Linked DNA regions of Homo sapiens: region 1 is linked to region 2. Evidence: promoter capture Hi-C in human tissues and cell types (Jung and others, 2019). All regions are on one chromosome and are shown on one strand. Each heading gives the region's core, a stretch centred on a gene start or on the middle of the fragment in contact. The rest is flanking DNA. Distances are from core to core; before and after follow the strand shown.

Evidence for each region. The method cuts DNA at HindIII sites, captures the fragments that hold promoters and counts their contacts. A contact is called where the count stands out against the background at its distance.
Region 1: a fragment that was not itself captured here is called in contact with the fragment with the promoter of LAMP5 in region 2 in 6 of the 25 tissues and cell types used here (H1 embryonic stem cells, IMR-90 fibroblasts, aorta and 3 more).

What each region holds. Positions count from the first base shown.
Region 1 is chr20:9,579,177-9,585,840 of GRCh38, forward strand. PAK5 (p21 (RAC1) activated kinase 5) reads right to left here. Exons shown (of 10, transcript NM_177990.4): 4 at 969-1,754. The region is part of intron 2 of LOC105372523 (a long non-coding RNA gene); the gene reads left to right. Among named protein-coding and RNA genes, the nearest start is that of LAMP5-AS1, 68 kb to the left of the region's middle. The HindIII fragment of the contact is 8,917 bases long and covers 1-6,664 here.
Region 2 is chr20:9,511,560-9,518,637 of GRCh38, forward strand. It overlaps LAMP5 (lysosomal associated membrane protein family member 5), which reads left to right and starts at 3,031. Exons shown (of 6, transcript NM_012261.4): 1 at 3,031-3,357; 2 at 3,894-4,066; 3 at 4,441-4,572; 4 at 4,697-4,802; 5 at 6,481-6,669. The coding sequence starts at 3,294. It overlaps LAMP5-AS1 (LAMP5 antisense RNA 1), which reads right to left and starts at 3,439. Exons shown (of 5, transcript NR_109957.1): 1 at 3,205-3,439. RefSeq lists an enhancer at 3,966-4,550. The HindIII fragment of the contact is 16,129 bases long and covers 1-7,078 here.

The DNA.
Region 1 (6,664 bases), core at 2,179-4,678, 68 kb after region 2:
TTGGTATAAATAAAGTACATGACTGCCCTGTGAGAAGTCATGTCCCTCTCACCTGCTTCAAGACCTCTATGTAATCCACATTCCACACCCTACGGTCCATGTTCTTTTGCTGGACAGGTAAGGTAGCAAAAACATTTCTAAATGACAGGGAAAAATAAATCACTTGCACATTCTCAAAGGTATTTTCCAAGACTTTAGACCTTCGGACCCATAGACCTTTGCCTGTGCTTTTAGTTTCAGTAACTTCTCCGGCAGTGATTCCCAAACTTTAGGATATCATAGACCAGTCAAATTTCAAAGCAAACTTGGAGCTGCTAACATTTAAACAAAATTTAAAAGAGGAATTACTACAAAACAAAGTGAAAAGGGGACAAAAATGGTCCAGCGGTCCAGCAACCATCTGTCACCCCCAAATTTCATATAAAAACCAATATTTCAAATCAAATATAGTAGAAAGTACATACTCTTAATATGAAGGGCCATCCCCTGAGTTGAACAAAATTGGCTTTATTTAAAAATTACCATGTTATACTGAGTTTCTTTCCTTTTTAGCAGGTCTATGCAAACTTTGCCAGGATGTAGGAACCACTGGATGGCTCGATCTAATGCTCTATGATTGTATATGACTGATCCACTCCTTAACAGGGAACTTAGTCAAATACAGTCACATCATATTTATCACTCATATATCAGAATTCTATCTTTCAAATCAATAAGTTTATTCGCCTTTTAATGAGAAACCACGTAGGAGGGCCCAAAAGATAGATTTTTATTTTAATGAATATATATGCCTTATCCTAAACCTCTGCCCTGGGGCCTCACAAGTGGAGATAGGGTGGGTTTTGATATTGATTTTCCCTTAAAAGGCAAACAAGTACTTTACAATCCAATCGTATAAAAAGGTCGTGCCAGCACCACCCCTGTGGAGGTTTTTGCACACGTGAGGGAAAGGAGGTAGCAAACGTTACCTTTGGAATGCACATTGTGGGCTCGGACAAGCGAGGGTAGGTGTAGGAGTTGTAGGAGTGTCCTTGGGGATGGGTTTTAAATGCACTTGCTCCAAATGGCATCATCGGTTCCTGGAGTCCCGAGCCTGACCTGGACCTCTGCCGCATGGTGGGCTGAGGGCTTGTCTGATTCAGGTACGAAGACTTTGGCCTCCTGTCATAGTCATCCAGGCTGGGTCCCCATTCACTTTCACTGTACGCCAGGCTCTCCTTGGAGCACCCGCTGGTCCCTGCAGTTCTAGAAGGTGTGAATTGGAATGAATAATCCAGAGGGGAGCTACTCGAGGCTCTCTGATACTCCCACTTGAGGTCACTGTATTCACTTGGTTTGCTCAGTGAGTCCAAATGTGAGTGATAATCGGCAGAAAATCTGGCAAAATCGGATTTCAAAGGCTTCACCTCAGAATAGTAGGCCTCCCCGTGCTTCATTTTCATTACGTGCCCATTTTGCTTGGCTGCGTGGCTGCCTCTATAATACGGATCCAGATCATCTCCATAGAGACTCTTCTCCCTGTACTTTTCGGTCGTGTAGTCAGCAGTAGTATCGGATTCGCTGGAATACTGGGAGAAGGTGATGAAGCCATTTTCTTCCGCGTGGCCTGGACCGTGGCTGGAGGCTCCCTGATCTGGGGTGGGTGGGCTTTCTTTCCTTAGGGAGTTGGAGCGAGTCACCGAGATGTTGTCAAAATCCTCTAGCAGGCCGTTGATGGAGGTTTCCTTGCAGGGTTTGTTTCCTCTAACGATTGTCTGGGAATAATAGAGGGAATATTGTTTAAAGAAAATATTTCATGGATTTAAATTGATGGTGGCATCCCACCCCCACTCCATCCAAATTAAACTACAGAAGAAAAAAGACCCCGGGAACACTTAACACAAAATGATAAAGAAAATGTGTTGATTGACTTCAGTGGTGAAATAAATCAAATAGTAAACAATCTCAAATTGCATTTTTCTTCTTACCTATCTCAACAGAGACATCAAATAACCATCAAAAAGCCATGTAGGAGACTACATAGAATATAACTGTTTTATTTACCAGTTTACAGGCAAATCCCTTCCCCCTACTTCTTCTACCTAAATAATAAGCCCTAACCACCTAATGATGAGCTGATAATTATAATTTAACACTCTATAACTGTTTGGTAATAAAAAATAATATTTATTACTGTTTTACATTCATTATTCAGATGATTTTCAAAACCAGAAGGCATTATCACCCAACTATTAACATAACTAGAAATGGGTGTACATTTTTTGCCCTTATATGGAAGACATAATAACTGAGGTTATGAAATTTTATGGATGAGGCAGGCACTTCCTGAAACTGTAATTAGGAAACAGACTGAAGATTATTTGTGTGATTTATGATCAAATGTGATATTCTTATTAAGTATATATACTTATACTATACTGCTTGTTTGTTATGGCCACACTTCTGTGTAACATCACCGCTGAATTTTGGATGGCTTAGTAATGATGGTTGCACCTGGATCTTAGTGACAAATTGTTCCCTTTAATGAACCTAAATAACACAAGAATACCAGGAACTGAAAGACATCGCAAACCACTTACAAAGCCCGTCAGCCGTGCCTTGACAATGACAGGATTTGCAGGCAAATATGATGGGGGTGGATAAAAGAACAAAGAACAAAGTGTTGTGACTTCAGACTTCCAGGATTTTAGGAGAAAAATACTTTTGAGCAAGTAGCAAGGAGTTCAAAACTATCTTGGATGGTACAATAGAAGATTTCAAACTGGAGGAAGAAGTCAAAGTTGTCCTGGAGCTGATGTTTTATAGATCTATCCATGGTGAAACAAAGGGTTTATTTTTTTTCTTTCCAAGAGTCCTGGACTAATAGTTTTGTACTATACCCTTTTCTTTCAAATAAAATTTTTATTCTAGAATAGTTTTAGATTAACAGAGAAGTTGCAAAGAGAATACAGAGTTCTCATAGACTTCTCATCCAGTTTCCCCTTGAGTTAATATCTTGCATTGCTATTAAGGAAACTCCATGTTCCTATAGATTTCATTAATTTTCTCCTAGGGTTCTAGAGTCCCATCCAGGATAGTTCATTACATTTATTTGTTATATCTTCCGAGTTTCCTCTGATCTGTGACAGTTTCTCAGATTTTCCTTATTTTTTGATGACCTTGACAGTTTTGAGGAGTACTGGTGAGGTATTTTGGAGAATGTTCCTCCATTGGGGTTTTCTGGTGTTTTTCCCATGTTTAAACAGAGGTTATTTGGTTTGAGGAGGAAGATCAGAGAGTCAAGTCACATTTCATCGCATAATGTTTAGGGTACATATCGTCGACACGACTTAGGAATGATGATGTTAGCCCTGACTACCTGGGTGAGGTCATATTTTCCAGGTTTCTTATACACACAGTCACACTCCCCTTCCCTAGCTTTCTGTATATTGTATTCTTTGGGAACAAGTCAGTAAGTGTAGCGTCTACTCAAGGGTCAGGGATTTAAGCTTTATCTTCTTGGGTGTGTGTGTGTGGTGGGGGTAGGGTATCTATATAAAGTAGTTGGAATTCTTCTGCACAGGAGACTTGCTTATTTGCTCCCATTTACCTACTCATTCAATCATTTATTTATATATAAGGATGGATGGACTTATGGTTATTTATTTTATACTTTGGGTTATAAGCCAACACTCTGTTATTTGCCTTGTTGCTCAAATGGTTCCAGCTTTTGTCACTGGGAGTTCTCTCAGGCTGGCTGCTGTGTCCCTTTGATGATCCCTCTTCCTTTTATTTTTTGAGCACTTCCTTACTTTCTGTCCCTACAAGAAGCTCCAGGTTTATCTTTTATTTTCCCTGCCCTTCCCCCCAAATCAGGCATTTCTCCAAGGAACGCTAATAGTATTAGAAATTAAGATTTGGTTCCAGGAATACTCATTGCTACTGGGTGTCATTGCCAGGCCTCAGCAAACAGAGCTCCGAAATAATATGTTTGTAGACTAACTCATGAACACACTCACACACCTATAATTATATCCATCCATCTGTATCTATATTAACCTAAACATAAATCCACATTAATGTCTCTGAATCTAATCAAGTACCACATAATTCATTCTTGCCATTTCCTTACCTGTAACTTCCTCTGCAACAGTAAAAAACATGGGCCCCACCATCTGCCAGTCATTTGCCTATTCAGTGCTAGTATAACTGTTCAGCAGTTTCAGATTAACTCACTCTACCATGAGAAACAACTTTGTCAACTCAAGTACCATGTTTAAGTCCAGTTCTTTAAAATTCCTTTACACTTATAGTTTGCATTCAAAGCACTGTTTCCAAAGTTCCTTAAGTTAGTGTCTTTTTTCCTGCACCCCCTTCAATGAGGTTATGTTATAAATGTATAGCTGTTGGATTCTTTGGTCACATTCTGCATTCTATCCCAGGATCCTCTGATCTTCTGGTTTATTTTTTGTTGTTTTTTGAAACTACGTACATTAATTAACTCTTTGTGCTGCAAAGCTCTATGGGTATTGACAAGTGCAAAGCATCATGTATTCACTGTTAGAGTGCCATACAAATTAGTGCCACCAGCTGCAAAAATATCTCCTGAGTTTCCTCTAGTCAAACATTACCCTCTCCCCAAACCCTTGATATCACTGATCTGTTTTCTGTCCTTATTGTTTTGTCTATTCCAGAATATCATATGGATGGAATCATACAGTCTGGAGCCTTTCAGCTTGACTTCTTTCACTGAGCATAATATAGTCAGTGTTCATAAACTAATATCCTAGTCTTTTTTTTGCCTATTCCTTTTTTATTCCATAGTGTGGAATTCATTATATGGAATGTAGTCATTGTTGAGGGTGGTGCATAAATTGATGGATTGATTGCCAAAGTAGGGGATGCTCTGTTGGAGCCTCCCTTAGAGAAAGAAAGAATCATGTATATAACCTGGGACCTTTCCTCAGAGGAACAACATCCATCCTCACCCCACAGATTAACTTGGGAGAAACAATAACTGTGAAGAGTAAAAGATGAGCAGCCTTGGCAGAGGAAAGATGAAACAGCTATAACTCAGCCTTAAAAATATCAAGTCTCTTTCAGCAGCTTCCTATTTCATTTCAGTTGTATCTTCCCTGTTTACCACTTATTTTATTTTATTTTATTTTATTTTTTGAGAAAGAGTCTTGCTCTGTCACCCAAGCTGGAGTGTAGTGGCATGATCTTGGCTCACTACAACCTCCGCCTCCCGGGTTCAAGTAATTCTCCTGCCTCAGCCTCCCCAGTAGCTGGGATTACAGGCACTCACCACCACGCCTGGCTAGTTTTTGTATTTTTAGTAGAGACAGGGTTTCACCATGTTGGTCAGGCTGGTCTCAAACTCCTGACCTCGTGATCCACCCGCCTTGGCCTCCCAAAGTGCTGGGATTACAGGCGTGAGCCACAGCGCCTGGCCTTGTTTACCACTTCTCTATTTCCTCAGGGTGGCCTTCAAGCCCTCTTAGACATCTGTTCTGCTTCCTTCTATGGATTTAAACTTCTGGCCTCCTTTCCTATTCAATAATGTCTTGCACTGTTTTTTAAAAGAAAACAGAAACAGTTTGTTTGTATCACAGTGTATCAACTAAAAGTTTTTCCTTTTGGACAGAAATTATACTCTTGCACATTTTCTACTCCCTCTCTTTATGAACAATAGGCAGGTTACTCAAACAAAATGTCATCAGGAATTCATGGTTCCTCCAAAAGAGCTTCCTGGTGTGTTTAATCCCAGGCATTTGTGTTGACAGATGTGCCACATGGGTAATGAGTGTAAGGCACACCAAGGTCTTAAAGGGCCCTTCTGAATCACTGGATCTACTCGGATAATCCTTTAGCAAAAATCTTATCTTATCCAGACTTTCTCTGAACTTGATAAACAATGCTTAACTATATTAGATTTTTTTCATATTCAATGTTACCTTTAGCTCTATATCCTAGAAAAATATTATTTCTTTAAATTCTATCCATCTTAAACAATATTCCAATTATTCTTTCTTGCCTGCCCCCCATGCCTTCCCATCTCTGAATACACAAAATATTCAGTCTGCTACCATGGAATCACTTCCAGCATCTTAATTTTGGAAAGAGTCTAGGTCACCTCTTCTTTTTACTGAGTAAAACCTGAAACCTGGAGTTGACTTTGCCAACAATATTTAACAAACAGGGGATTTGAACCCAAGTCTCCTTTCTCCCAGTCTAGGTCTCTTTCTATGGTATGCTTTAGACTCTTTTAGGCTAAACAAAATATTACCAGTAAGCAATGCAACGTTGGTGTGTGACATCACAACCCAGCAAATTGGCCATTGGTCATTGTGGTGCATATTTCTATCGTGCGCTCCACTCTCAGAAATTAGTTGCTGAATGTACGGAATATGGATAATTCTAGATTCCAATTTCAATTTCAGTGCACACTTGCTATGTGATTTAATTTCATTCTTTATTTCATTACCTGTTCTCTTATTTGTAATAGGGATATTATCACTTGATGGTATTTAGTGATCCCCTTCCCCCTAGAATTGTAGCTGCAGATAGAAGGAGGTGCTAGAGAACAGTTTTAAAACATCCTAATGCCCTCAACGAAAACACTGCCTTCAGTGGACGGAAATTTGTAAATATGATATGAATTAAGAACATTTCTACACATTCA
Region 2 (7,078 bases), core at 1,781-4,280:
GTATCCTTCCTTCCACCCTACATCAGTTTGTCAACTTCTTTCAAGACTCACCTTCTCCAAGAGACCTTTTTTCATCAATTTCAACCACTCTCCCACCTGGGATGCCTGTCTTACTTTTTTTTCCCCCTGAACATTTATGCAGACACTGTGCTAGGCTAACTGGAATCTTTATGTAAATTCTTCTCATCCAAATTGAAAGTTCTATGCAAGGGCCTCTTCTTGCCCTTTTATAAAACAGCAACCACTCAATGGCATGAGATTCATAAAGGCTAATTCAGTAAGTATCCATATGAATTGAAAAACAGCCTTTGAAGGACCTAGAAGATCTAGAGGAGATCCCAAATCCAGTGTGTTTAGGTCACACTGCACCCTAACAGTTTCTACTGACCACCAGCAGCAATAATAAAAATTGACACAGTTACCACCCACACAGGTGTACATATTTATGTCAATTTCTCCTACCATCTTTTAGACTTGAGAAATGAAAAGTAGAGCAAATTCTGGGGAACATTGTTAATATATTAAAATGCAATTTAATGGCAAATTTTGCTCCTTGATCACTTCTTTGCTTATTTTAGAGAACCAAAGAGTTTTTTTCCAGAATGATTAGAAAGATATTTAATTAATGTAGGTGAAAGTTGTAGGTATAATGACCTAACTCCTATTGCAATGTATCACAGTGGATAAGATGATAAATTAATGGGCATTTGTTAGCCATGTTTAAGATTAAATATTAAAAAAGTCATTAAACTGATTGTGCTTTGAAAATAATCCCCCCAGAAAAAAAGAGTTAAAATTGCTTTCTTTCTTCTTTCAACCCATTTGAGTACTCTAGGGTACACTCTCCAGTGTCAACAAAGAGATCATTTATATCAGGTATAATTTTCAAAGGAACAACCATCTCATTTGTAAATCAACTACTACATTTTAAGATCAATGACCAATGCTACTACTCACCTAATCTTTTATTATTAAGGCAGATAATCATGAATTAATTCAGTTGATCTTTTAACAACTTATATAGTGAAGATATCTGCAATAACATACTGCAAGAGAAATTGTCAAAATCTTTTATAGGTGTCTCTCCTACTTGTGTAATGATAAATATCTTTTGGTTTTCAAAGCATCAAGCATACTGGAAGTAGTAAGTATTCGGTTAATGTTTATGGATCTATTTGTACTTTGTTTATTTATACTCATTGGCCCATTTGGTTTAACTAGCCATCCCCTGAGTTATTTTCCCAATTTTTCAGATGAGAACAAATAAAATCTTCAGAAGGTCACAAAAATAATAAGTAGTGAATCCTGGACTGAAATCTACTCATTTCTGTCCTCATAAAATACTGGAGAGAGAGAGAGAGAGAGAGAATAAATACTTTATTACATGTCTCATTGTTTTCCAGTTTTACAGTACTACAGGAAAATAAGTGTTTAATAATAATTGCTAACATGAAAAAATGTAACACATACAAATGTTATCTCTTCCACTTTCAACTGATGAGAACTGACGTTTTATCAATCTTCTGTATAAAATCATTTCTGTTAAGTTCTGTAAAATTTGCATCAATTCTTCTATATATAATCATCTTTGTAAAGTTCTTGAGAAATGTTTGGATGAAATACTGAACTACAAACATAAAAGTCAAGATGTCAAAATATAATGTCAATTTTAATATTACTTTATACTTTGAATTGCTAGTGATCTAATGATTGATATAGGAATATGTTTGAAAGCCAAAAACATTATATAGATACTTTGTGGCAGATATGTCAGAATGTGATTATACTTAAAACAGCATTCTATAAATTTGAAGAATGTGAATTAATGATAGAGATTTCAGATTTCAGATTATTATTTGATATTGAATATAGATTTTTATGGAAGTCAAAATATGGAGTAAAAATATTATATAAGGAGAAATGAAGATAATCTCACAGAGTTAAAGCATGTGATTTTTGTATTTTAATTCTAACTGACCATGTGACATTTGGGAAGGTCATTTAATTTATTTGAGCCTCAGTTTTGGGGTATGTAAAACCACAGTAACTCATATCTTTCCTTGCCTACCCTCTAAGATTGGGGAGAATCAAATTAGATAATGCAGGTGAAATACTTTGCAATTTTCCCTTTAATATGACATTGTTTTATAACATTATATTACTGATGCAACATTTATTTGCATTATGAAATATCTTCTAAGGAATAAAATATTTGGACATCACTACAATTGATGAGGACTGCATGTGTATTTTTGAAAGCTGTATTCTGATTTACAGAGCAAAAATAAAAAATAAGCAAGCTACCAAATATGTAAATACAGGAATTAGCCCAGTAGTATTTGTTCTTCTGTTCCACTACAGGCTTTAGAGTAATATCAGTGTGTGTTTTTCTTACATAACTATGTGACATTACTTAGGGCATAATTCTAAAATTTCTGTCCTAGGAGACACTAGATAACTCTCAAAAACTTCTGATTTGCTTGCATCCCTTTTTGGCAGAGTGGTCACAGTATAATGCGGGAGGGTAGGTGACCCCAGAGTTCAGAGTCCTCATGCACCCGGGAGCAAAATTCACAGGAAAATAAGCCCACATGGAGCTACTGCATTGTCTGATGGCCTCGTTCGAGGAGGCGTCAATTTAACTTTAAACCCATGAGCTCATTGAGAGCAGGGGAGAGAAGGGGATGTCTCCAAATTCAGGAAACTGTTGCCATAGCATTTTCCCTTCTCTATTCCTGCATAGCCCTCCTCCCCCGAATCAGCAACAATTTTTGCTCCACCGTTTTCTTTCGGGAACCAGATGCGTTTTCAGAAGACAGTACTCCAGTGATAAGGTATCTACACCACTTAATAACTGTACCTGGTAAGGAGATTTAATAAGGCTGAGGGTGGTATTAAGTTTCTCAGAACAGACTCATCTTTGCGGATGCAGTTGCAGAACAGGAAACAGACCCAGGGAGAAGTTTAGTCCCCCCAGATCTCATTGGCCCTCCGCACAAGCCAAGCCACAGCCACTCCTGCCACACAATCGGATTGCTTTCAGCACTCGCAGCCGTGGACCGCCGTGCGGTCCTTTCCTCCGCAGTGAGCCGATTTGCTCTGCCAGCAGCTGTCGGTGCCGCGCTCGACACCGAGTCCTAGCTAGGCGCTCACAGAATACGCGCTCCCTCCCTCCCCCTTCTCTGTCCCCCGCCTCTCGCTCACCCCGGCCCACTCCAGCGGCGACTTTGAGGGATTCCCTCTCTGGCGGCCTCTGCAGCAGCACAGCCGGCCTCATTCGGGGCACTGCGAGTATGGATCTCCAAGGAAGAGGGGTCCCCAGCATCGACAGACTTCGAGTTCTCCTGATGTTGTTCCGTGAGTAGCGATTTGGCGACTGGGAGAGAGGACGGGCACTCTTTGCAGAGAACAGAGCCGGCAAAGTAAAGTCAATTAGCTTGAGATAAAAAATATGGCCCTTAATGTTTTGCGGTGTTTTTTCTTTTTTTCTTTTAGGGGAGGAGGGAGGGCCTTCCTCGCCGGTGGCAGGGAATTCCCCTGAGAGCCATACACCTCTGTGGCATATTCCAGACAGAGCCTAGACAGGCCAGCTTCGTGAGGTCAGAGCATTGGCAAGAAATATTTACTTTAAAATCCCAAGATGTAGAAAACAGCCAGCTATATTACAAACAAAGTCAGGATTTTTAATTTTTTTAACTGTATTTTCATTATAAATTAACAGCGAAGGAATGAGGCTTGTTAGACCCGGGTTAGAGAAACGGCTCGTAGAGCGCACAGCTGCTGGCAGAGAACTTTGTCACTCCAAAGCCTGCAGAGCACTGTCTCCCCACCCTAGCGCCCGAGACGCGTGGGCTGAGCCCTGAACTGATGGAATTGTTTTGTTTGTTCCGCAGATACAATGGCTCAAATCATGGCAGAACAAGAAGTGGAAAATCTCTCAGGCCTTTCCACTAACCCTGAAAAAGATATATTTGTGGTGCGGGAAAATGGGACGACGTGTCTCATGGCAGAGTTTGCAGCCAAATTTATTGTACCTTATGATGTGTGGGCCAGCAACTACGTAGATGTAAGGAATCTTTCCCCCCCCTCAGCTTGCTCCTAGGGCTCCAGGGCGAAGGGCACCCTTCCTCAAGGCTCTTCGAAGACCTGGGTTGCCCGCCTTCTTTCCCACACCCCGGCAGGCTGCTCCCGAATGCTGCATGGGGATTCCAGCTTGTAATGCCTTCTGTTCCCCTGCCTGCTTTGAAAGTAAACCCCCTTCTCTCCGCTTCCCTATCGGGGCTGCACGTAGAGCATCTAACCGCATGTTCCCGGAACCTGGGATGCGCGCGCGCAAAGGAGCGCCCAAGCGTGCAACCCAGAGTTTGGACGCGCCGCCCTTTACAGCCCCCGCCCCGGGGCCGGGCGAGCTGAGGGGGCGCGGGGCGTCTGTGTTCCCAGCTGATCACAGAACAGGCCGATATCGCATTGACCCGGGGAGCTGAGGTGAAGGGCCGCTGTGGCCACAGCCAGTCGGAGCTGCAAGTGTTCTGGGTGGATCGCGCATATGCACTCAAAATGCTCTTTGTAAAGGTAACTCCGAGCCCAGCGGGCAGAGGGGCCGCAGGCTCCGCGTGGGTGTGGGAAGTGGCGGCCCCTAGGTTTAAGAACCCAGACGCTGCGGGGACGATTGAAGCGCACCTCCCCGGCTCAACAGGAAAGCCACAACATGTCCAAGGGACCTGAGGCGACTTGGAGGCTGAGCAAAGTGCAGTTTGTCTACGACTCCTCGGAGAAAACCCACTTCAAAGACGCAGTCAGTGGTGAGTGGAGGCTGGCATGGCTGGGGAGGGAGCCTGGGAACTCGCAGAACAGGCTTGGAGAGAGAATTCCTCAAGGTTTTGGAAACCGTCCCACGCTTTGAGGTCCCAGGCCAAGTCTTCCCTCGGCTTGCTCTTTAGGGCGGAAGAGGCGGGAGCGCCCATGAGTCTTCTGGGTCTCAGGCCTTGTAGATCCGCCAGGAACCGCAGGCGTGGGGACCCAAACGTCACCCGTGGCCTGATCCTAGATAAGAAGTCCCTTGAAGGCCTGTCGTTCCCTGGTGCTTCAAAACGACCTCTTATGATTTGGCCTTTGAAGGACCACGGAGAAGGGCAAAGCTGCATTTTAATTTTCTTCCGCATCCTGGTTTTGTTTCTTATGCGCTAAAACTGCAAGGGGGCAGTGCGACTTTCCTTTTCAGTCAGGATGTGATGGCCTTCAGTGTCTTTTTGCGCATGGCAGCATGGCTCGCACGGGATATTCAGTCATCGACTGCAGCTACCTGACAGTGGATTCTGCACCATGTATAATTTACTAGCGTTTCTGGCCCATCCCTCCGACAACTCAGCCAGATCCTCCTCGGCAAAACGAGCGTTCATCCCCCAAATAACAATATTCCTATCTGCAGACACCGTCAAAGACCACATTTAAATTTATTTTATTCTTTATAAGTTGTCTATTTCACTCATAATGAGGCCCTTCATCACCCAGGCACCTGAGTTGGGAAAGGATTTTTATTGAATACATAAAAATACATGTGTCATCTTTCCCTTTTCACCCCTTTTTGTTATCACAGTAAAAGGAGGATTTTTTCTTTTTCATCAAAGTTTAGATGCAAGATGTCCCCCAGTTAAATTAGACCAAAAAGGAAAAAGGAAAAATCAAACTTAGGTCAGAAAAAGAGCAATGGGAGGCAGACCTTCAGAGGGGATGTATGTGTGTAAGGACAAGCATCCAGAGGACCAGCAATCTGTCCGGCTTTGTTGAGGAAGATGTTTTATTCTTTGCCAGGCCCGTGTGAAATGTGGAAAACCAAGTCACTGTTCCTTCTGTGTCTTTGGAATCTCCATTATTAGGGATTTTTTTTTTCTTTTTTGAAGTGCGGTCTCACTCTGTCCACCAGGGTGGAGGGCAGTGGCACCACCATAGATCACCACAGCCTGGAGTAAGCTACTGGGCTCAAGAGATTCTCCCACCCCAGTTTCCCCAGTAGCTGGGACTACAGGCATGTGTCACCATGCCAGACTAATTTTGTAAATGTATGTGTGTGTGTGTGTATTTGTAGAGACAGAGTCTCACTATGTTGCTCAGGCTGGTCTAGAAATCTTGGGCTCAAACGATCCTCCCACCTTGACCTCTGAAAGTTTTGGGATTACAGGCAGGATCCACCATGCCCAGCCTAGGTTTTATACAGTAACAAGGGTTGGGTTTTTAAGTATCATTCTCCTCTTCAAAAAAGGAGTTCCAAATTAATATTGAAAGAGCCCTGGCTCTCAAGATAATGGGTGTGTTTGTCCTTCATCACCACTTGATGCCATTTGTAGAGCCCTAGCCCTGGCAAGGGAACAGAGAGGACAGGAGGGGTGTGGTGTCTGGAACTGAGAGGCAATAGCCAGCTCTCTGGCACATTAGGTTAGGAACAATGAGGGTTCTAACTATTGCTCTGGGCTCTTGCTGTAGCTGGGAAGCACACAGCCAACTCGCACCACCTCTCTGCCTTGGTCACCCCCGCTGGGAAGTCCTATGAGTGTCAAGCTCAACAAACCATTTCACTGGCCTCTAGTGATCCGCAGAAGACGGTCACCATGATCCTGTCTGCGGTCCACATCCAACCTTTTGACATTATCTCAGATTTTGTCTTCAGTGAAGGTAAGTTGTTGGGGGATGGAGGGGAAGAAGACCTAGTTTATTTCAGGAAGGATGAGAGAGGGACCTACCAGGGCCCCAGGATGTTACCACTTGGATTTCCTCTAGGTTGAAATGACACTGCCTGCCTCTTTAATAATTTTCAAAGACTAAAAAAGCAGTAAGCTGAATGTATGAACTTATCTCAGTAGTTCTTTCTTTCTCCCTCCCAGCCTCCTCCCCGTTTACCTTCACTTTAGTCCTTTCTTCTCAGTCTCCCTTTGTTTCCTCCTTCTTCTTTTCTTTACCTTCTTCCCTCCCTTCTTATATTTCATCTTTCCCTCTCTCCCCATCTTCTTTCCTTTGCCAAAAGATGAACCTTCATAGGGAGAAAGATTTAAAAAGTCACTTTGGAAAAAACTGTAATTTTGAT